Regions from separate parts of the Homo sapiens genome. Here region 2 is linked to region 1. The links are contacts of gene promoters, found by promoter capture Hi-C in human tissues and cell types (Jung and others, 2019). All regions are on one chromosome and are shown on one strand. The core of a region is centred on a gene start or on the middle of the fragment in contact, and the rest is flanking DNA. Distances in the headings are between cores, read along the strand shown.

The links. The method cuts DNA at HindIII sites, captures the fragments that hold promoters and counts their contacts. A contact is called where the count stands out against the background at its distance.
Region 2: a fragment that was not itself captured here is called in contact with the fragment with the promoter of FZD6 in region 1 in 1 of the 25 tissues and cell types used here (dorsolateral prefrontal cortex).

Annotation. Positions count from the first base shown.
Region 1 is chr8:103,297,648-103,301,510 of GRCh38, forward strand. FZD6 (frizzled class receptor 6) reads left to right here and starts at 1,251. Exons shown (of 7, transcript NM_003506.4): 1 at 1,251-1,348; 2 at 2,309-2,637. The coding sequence starts at 2,461. LOC105369147 (a long non-coding RNA gene) reads right to left here and starts at 1,171. Exons shown (of 2, transcript NR_148216.1): 1 at 702-1,171. RefSeq lists enhancers at 827-1,327, 1,328-1,828, 1,682-1,731 and silencers at 932-981, 992-1,161, 1,282-1,531, 1,394-1,688. The HindIII fragment of the contact is 4,787 bases long and covers 1-2,780 here.
Region 2 is chr8:104,577,395-104,581,488 of GRCh38, forward strand. All of the region lies in intron 1 of LRP12 (LDL receptor related protein 12), which reads right to left. Among named protein-coding and RNA genes, the nearest start is that of LRP12, 9.8 kb to the right of the region's middle. The HindIII fragment of the contact is 4,873 bases long and covers 349-4,094 here.

The DNA of each region.
Region 1 (3,863 bases), core at 1-2,500:
CTAGAGCCTGATCACAAAAAGATCTCATTAAGTTCGTAGAAACTGGAGAGAAATAGTCTTCCAATGTAGAAAATTAGAAATTTAGGGGAAAATATTCTTCCTACATAGAAATTTATTCTGCAATACATCAACTATCCAGCTCTTAATGATGTTAATATTTCTTCATCACTACCTGTCTCCCAACATCAGTAAGCTTTTGATAAAACTGGGGAGGAATTCCCCACTCCAAATTCGTCTTTCCCCACAGATTCCAAAACTCTTACTCTGGTTGTTCAGGGTTGTCCTTCTAGGTATGGAAATATGACATTCCTTTTCTGCAACAGGATGATTTATCTGACAAGAATAGCCTCCATCTACAAGTTACTTTGCATTTTTCAAAGTACTTCTACAAGTTCATTTGCTTCTCATACTATTCTGCCTGTTTCATAGGAGGGCCTTACAGGTTAGGTGTAAACACTTGTAACGAACTTGGCACTATTTGACTTACAGCCAGTGCTCAATTAACGTTAACCATCATTACAACTATTGTCATTCCTATATTGTGAGGAAACTATGCCCCTTAAAGATTAGGGTAATTTATCTAATATCTATGACAGAGTTGGTACCCCAAACTAGGTTGATTTCTACAGCAGTTCAACTTCCTATTAGGGTTTGTATCAATAAAACTGTGGGACCCGCCAGGGCTGGAATCCCACTGCTACCTGAGCATCCAGTTGGTGACCAGGCTCCCCGAATTAATAAAAGTATTTGTTGTTGTTTTTATAGCAGTTGTCCAGGAAGTATCTCCTTTCGAACTCAAGTCACTTGGGCAATTGGCTTTACAAAGCAAATTGGCTCCGTTTAAGGATTCTTGACTCCTGAAATCCGCAAGGAAGTGGGTTCTTTTAGAGCCAGCGCCAAGAGCTTCAAAAAATCCTTCTAAGGTGAACCCCTCCGGACCCGGATAGCGAGATGGGGCTCAGCCTTGCGCCTCGGGGGTCGTAACAGACGGCAAGGTGGAGGTGGCTTCCCGGCCCCGCAGCCGGACCTCGGCACCCCGAGCCCGTTCACCGGGGCCGGGTCCTGGCGGGCCGCGGAGTGAGGCCGGGCGGCGCAGCGCAGGCGGTGCCCGGGCGCAGGGCCAGTCCCGCCGCCGCCGCCGCCGCCGCCGCCGCCGCCGCCGCGAGCCCGGACCTGCCCGCCCGACCTGGCGGCGCAGTCTCGCGGGATCGCTCAGCTCTCGCTCCCCGTGCGGCTCTCGAGGCAGCTCCAGTCCCGGACGCAACCCCGGAGCCGTCTCAGGTCCCTGGGGGGAACGGTGGGTTAGACGGGGACGGGAAGGGACAGCGGCCTTCGACCGCCCCCCGAGGTGAGGCTTCCACGGCTGGGACTGGGCAGGGGCCGGGCGGGTGCCGGGGGAAGCGGGGAGGGCCTCGAGGGGCGAGGGGCCGCGGCTGGGATGAGGCGCGCCGGGAGCCGCAGGTGCTGGGGAGGCAACGGCGGGACGGCCCGCACCTGAGTTTCCTCGGAAGCGGGAACCGGCTCTGAAAGGCGATGCCGGGGCCCCGCGGCGCCGCGCAGGCCAGGAACGCTGCTGTCTGGCTCTAGGCCTGGGGCAGGTTCCCGGGTGTGGGGCGCTGGCGGACCGGGCATCAGTGTGTGTTGGGGCGCGGGTAATTCGTAATCCGGGGCCTACAGCCTTCCTCCCGCAAGGGGACTGCCTTCGCCCTTCCCCCGGGACAGATTTGCGCACTTTCCTTTCGACGGCAGCACTACACCCTCCTAGCCAGTGAAAACTGCAATGTTGCTCCTCCACTGGAGGAATCCTAAAAGTCTCCCTCTAGTTGGCCTTACGAAAATCGAGAAAACTACATACCCAGAAGACTGCCACAAAAACTGACTCTTCAGAGTCTTTTACAAGTTTAAGAACTCTTTGGGTCTTAAGGAATTTCCCAGGGCCTTAGTTTTCTTGTACTTAATAAGCTTTCCAACAGGGGCCCTTAGATTGTATGCTTATATTAATCCTTTATAATTTACTCCGAATCACCAGCTTTCCTTTTTTCCTCCATCTTACTCTTGCCATTCCCTCTTTTTAACCCTGTCTTCCATACAGCACCAACCTCCTAGCATCGGTTTCCTAGAGGTGCAGCTTCCTTAGCAAATGATATATTCCATGCTAAGGCAGGTGGAAGAGTATCTCGTTAGGACAGAATTTTCCGTTGTTTTTCCAGTGTTTGTTACCTGGGGTGAAAATCTTAACTCTGCACTTTGACTCCACATTTGAGTTTATGACAAATGTTGCTGATACACCCTCCTTTTGTTTTTACAGTAATTGACCCAGGACTCATTTTCAGGAAAGCCTGAAAATGAGTAAAATAGTGAAATGAGGAATTTGAACATTTTATCTTTGGATGGGGATCTTCTGAGGATGCAAAGAGTGATTCATCCAAGCCATGTGGTAAAATCAGGAATTTGAAGAAAATGGAAATGTTTACATTTTTGTTGACGTGTATTTTTCTACCCCTCCTAAGAGGGCACAGTCTCTTCACCTGTGAACCAATTACTGTTCCCAGATGTATGAAAATGGCCTACAACATGACGTTTTTCCCTAATCTGATGGGTCATTATGACCAGAGTATTGCCGCGGTGGAAATGGAGGTGAGTAGTGCTTCATACGTTTATTGAATAGTAGTTTATGCTCTGTTCTAGAATAAACTAGTAAAAATAAGTCTATTTTTAAACAGAGCCGATTTCTTCAAGTTGTGTACAAGTTGTGTTTTGAAAAGTCCTTTTGAAAATTAAATCCCTCTACTGACTTATGTTTTGTGTACCTTTGCGGCCCTGTTTAGTAGATTCGTTTGAATAGGGTTCATTTTATATAATGAAGTATGGTTACACATGATTTCTAAATACCTTGTACCTAGAAAATATTTTGCTTTCCTGAATCAAGTATGATAGTTCTTCTAGAAATGCGAATTCTGAATATTTTTCTACTTCACTGAACATGTAATATTTATTGCCTGGACTAAAACTGAAGAAATTTACAAGTTTTTATAAGTAGTTGTAATATTCACTTGGTACAGTTTTTCTGAAATAAATAAATTATCAGAATATTTTGTTGCTGTAGACTGTATTTTAAGGCTATCACAAAGTCACTAAAAAGTGACTTTGTTTTCTAAGCATAGCACTTATATGTTCTTTATAAGATACTTGTTAAAAGAAACCACTTGGGAGGAGTACAGTGACACTAAAGATTGCCTTAGGTGCCTTAGTTACCTGTCTCTGGTTTAGAGATATGCAAATTACTAGGGAGTGTGAGAAGAAAGCTACCTGTACAGACAGGAACCTGCCTTCCCATACAGATTTGTTAGGTTGTTAAGTCTCCTGAAGGAAACTAGACACATGCATTGTTTTTGTAGTTTTTCTCCAGAAAAACAGAATAGTAAAGGCTTTTTTCCCTCAGATTGTTGCTAAGAGAGGAAATCCCTACAAATTTAATATATATACTATTTTTAAAATTGATTAGATTTGATTTTGCAGCTTTGAAAGTTTTCTATTGTTGTTCAGTTGAATAGTTGTCTGACTGCCTCATTGTGGACTCATGTCTGGAATAGGAAAGCTTATAAATACTAAGTAGATGTTATTTAAAAGGATAGTACAGATTATATTATTGTTATCTTTCAGTGGTTTTTTTCAAACTGATGCTAGATGTCCTTTTGAACTGAACAAATGATGCACTGAGACTTTCATGAATCAGAACCATTTTGATGGTTCAATCTGATTCAATATGAAGTATATAGTGAGAACACTGTGAAGCAATAATTACATCATTCATTCACTTTTTTGCTGATGATAATATGTTTTGTAGTGTTCATGTTTTAATA
Region 2 (4,094 bases), core at 1,535-4,034, 1.3 Mb after region 1:
CAATCAAATTAGGAATCAAGACTAAGAGACTCACTAAAAACCATACAATTACATGAAAATTAAATAATCTGCTCCTGAATGACTTTTGGGTAAATAATAAAATTCAGGCAGAAATCAAGAAGTTCTTGGAAACAGGCCGGGAGCAGTGGCTCACGCCTGTAATCCCACCACTTTGGGAGGCCAAGGCAGGCAGATCACGAGGTCAGGAGATTGAGACCATCCTAGCTAACAAGGTGAAACCCTGTCTCTACTGAAAATGCAAAAAAATTAGCTGGGCGTGGTGGTGGGCACCTGTAGTCTCAGCTACTCGGGAGGGGGAGGCAGGGGAATGGCATGAACCAGGGAGGCGGAGCTTGCAGTGAGCCAAGACTGCGCCACTGTGCTCCAGCCTGGGTAACAGAACGAGACTCCATCTCAAAAAAAAAAAAAAAAAGAAAAAGAAAGTTCTTGGAAACCAATGGAACAAAGATACAACATCCCAGAATCTCTGGGACACAGCTAAGGCAGTATTAAAAGGGAAATTTATAGCACTAAATGCCCACATCAAAAAGTTAGAAAGATTGCAAATTAACAACTTAACATCACAACTAAAAGAACTAGAGAACCAAGAGCAAACAAATCCCAAAGCTAGTAAAGACAAGAAATAACCAAAATCAGAGATGAACTGAAGGAGACTGAGATGCAAAAAACCATTCAAAACATCAACAAATCCAGGAGCTGGTTTTTTTTTTGAAAAAATTAATAAAACAGACCACTAGCTAGGCTAATAAAGAAGAGAGAAAATTCAAATGAGCACAATCAGAAACAACAAAGGGGATACTACCACAGACCCCACAGAAATACAATCATCAGAGAATGTTGCAAACACCTGTATGCACATAAACTAGAAAAATCTAGAAGAAATGGATAAATTACTGGACACATACACCTTCCTAAGACTAAACCAGGAAAAAAACTGAATCCCTGAACAAGCTAATAACAAACTCTGAAATTAAGTCAGTAATAAACAGCCTACCAACCAAAAAATGCCCAGATGGATTCACAGCTGAATTCTACCAGATGTACAAAGAAGAGCTGGTACTGTTCCTGCTGTAACTATTCAAAAAAATTGAAGAGGAAGGGCTCCCTCCTAACTCATTCTATGAGGTCAGCATCATCCTGATACCAAAACCTGATGGCGGTTTTGGTATTAAAAAAACAAACAAGCAAAAACAAAAAACTTACTGGCAACAAAAGAAAACATCAGGCCAATATTCTTCATGAACACTGATGCAAAAATCCTCAAAAAATACTTGCAAACCAAATCCAGTAGCACATCAAAAAGCTTATCCACCGTGATCAAGTAGGCTTTATCCCTGGGATGCAAGGTTGATTCAACATATGCAAATCAATAAATGTGATTCATCGCATAAAGAGAGCTAAAGACAAAAACCACATGATTATCTTGACAGATGCAGAAAGGGCTTTTGATGAAACTCCACACCCCTTCATATTAAAAACTCTCAGTAAACAAGGTATTAAGAAATATACCTCAAAATAATAAGAGCCGTCTATGACAAACAAACCCACAACCAACATCATAATGAATGGGCAAAAGCTGGAAGCATGACCCCTGAAAACCGACACAAGACAAGGATGCCCTCTCTCACCACTGCTATTCAACATAGTACTGGAAGTCTCGGTTAGGGTAATCAAGCAAAAGAAATAAATAAAGCGCATCTAAATAGGAAGAGAGGATGTCAAATTATCCCTGTTTGCAAATGACATGATCCTATATGTAGAAAACCCCATAGTCTCGGGCCCAAAGCTTCTTAAGCTGGTAACTACTTCAGCAAATTCACAGGATATAAAATCAATGTGCAAATATCACTAACATTCCTATACACCAACAACAGTCAAGCTGAAGCCAAATCAGGAATGTAATTCCATTCACAACTGCCATAAAAAGAATAAAATACCCAGGAACACAGCTAACCAGGGAGGTGAAAGATCTCTAGAAGGAGAACTATAAAACTACGCTTACAGAAATCAGAAATGACACAAACAAATGAAAAAACATTCTATGTTTATGGGTAAGAAGAATCAATACTGTTAAAATGGCCATACTGCCCAAACCAATTTACAGATTCAATGCTATTCCTATTAAATGACCATTGACATTCTTCACAGAACTAGAAGAAACTATTTTAAAATTCATATAGAACCAAAAAAGAGCCCAAATAGCAGAGGTAATCCTAAGCAAACAGAAGAAAGCTGAAGAAATCATGCTACCCAACTTCAAACTACACTACAGGTCTACAGTAACCAAAACTGCATGGTACTCGTACAAAAACAGACACATAGACCAATGGAACACAATAGAGAACCCAGAAATAAGGCAGCACATCTACAACTAACTGATCTTCAACAAACTTGACAAAAATGAGCCATAGGAAAAGGATTCCTTATTCAATAAATGGTGCTGGGGTAACCGGCTAGTCATATGCAGAGGACTGAAACTGGACCCCTCCTTACACCATATACAAAAATTAACTCAAGACGGATTGAAGACTTAAATATAAAACCCAAAACTATAAAAACCCTGGAAGACAAGCTAGGCAATACCATTCTAGACACAAAAATAGGCAAAGATCTCAGGATAAAGATGCCAAAAGCAATTGCAACAAATGCAAAAATTGACAAATGGAATCTAATTAAACTGACGAGCTTCTGTCCAGCAAAGGAAACGGTCAACAGAGTGAATAGGCTACCTACAGAATGGGAGAAAATTTTTGCAAACTACGCATCTGACAAAGATTCATAATTTGCAAAATATCCAGCATCTATTAAGAACTAATCTAGGCTGGGTGCGGTGGCTCACGCCTGTAATCCCAGCACTTTGGGAGGCCCAGGCAGGTGGATCACGAGGTCAGGAGATTGAGACCATCAGGACTAACACAGTGAAACCCTGTCTCTACTAAAAATAAAAAAAAAAAAAAAAAAAAAATTAGCCGGGCATGGTGGTGGGTGCTTGTAGTCCCAGCTACTCGGGAGGCTGAGGCAGGAGAATGGCATGAACCCGCGAGGCGGGGCTTGCAGAGAGCCAAGATTGTGCCACTGCACTCCAGCCTGGGCGACAGAGCAAGACTCCGTTTCAAAAAAAAAACAAAACAAACAAACAAAAAATTAATCTAAATCTATAAAGAACTTAAAACACATTTACAAGAAAAAAACCCATTGAAAACTGGGTAAAGGACATGAACACTTTTCAAAAAAAGACATACATACAGCCAACAATCATATGAAATATAGCTCAACATCACCAATCAGAGAAATGCAAATCAAAACCACAATGAGATACCATCTCACACCAGTCAGAATGGCTAATTATTAAAAGGTCAAAAAAATAACAAATGCTTGCGAGGTTGTGGTGAAAAAGGAATGCTTGTACACTGTTGGGAGAAGTGTAATTAGTTCAATCATTGTGGAAGACAACGTGGCGACTCCTCAAAGACCTAAAAACAGAAATATCATTGACCCAGCAATCCCATTACTGGGAATACACCCAAAGGAATATAAATTGTTCTATTATAAAGACACATGCATGTGTTATGTTCCTTGTAGCACTGATTCACAATAACAAAGACATGGAATTAACCTAAATGCCCATCAATGACAGACTGGATAAAGAAAACGTGGTACACATATACCATAGAATACTATGTAGTCATAAAAAAGAACAAGAACATGTCCTTTACAGGAACTTGGATGGAGGTGGGGGCCATTATCCTTAGCAAACAAATGCAGGAACAGAAAACCAAATGCTGCATGTTCTCACTTATAAGTGGGAGCTAAATGATGAGAACACATGGACACATAGAGGAAGGGGAACAACACATACTGGGGCCTGTCAGAAGGTGGCGGGTGGGACAAAGGAGAGGATCAGAAAAAATAACTACTGGGTACTATATACGATATGATGTACAGATATCACTAGATATGATGTAACATATCACTAGGTGATGAAATAATCTGTACAACAAACAGATTAATAATTATGTACAACAAACCCCCATGTAATAATTGTGTACAACAAACCCCCATGACACAAGTTT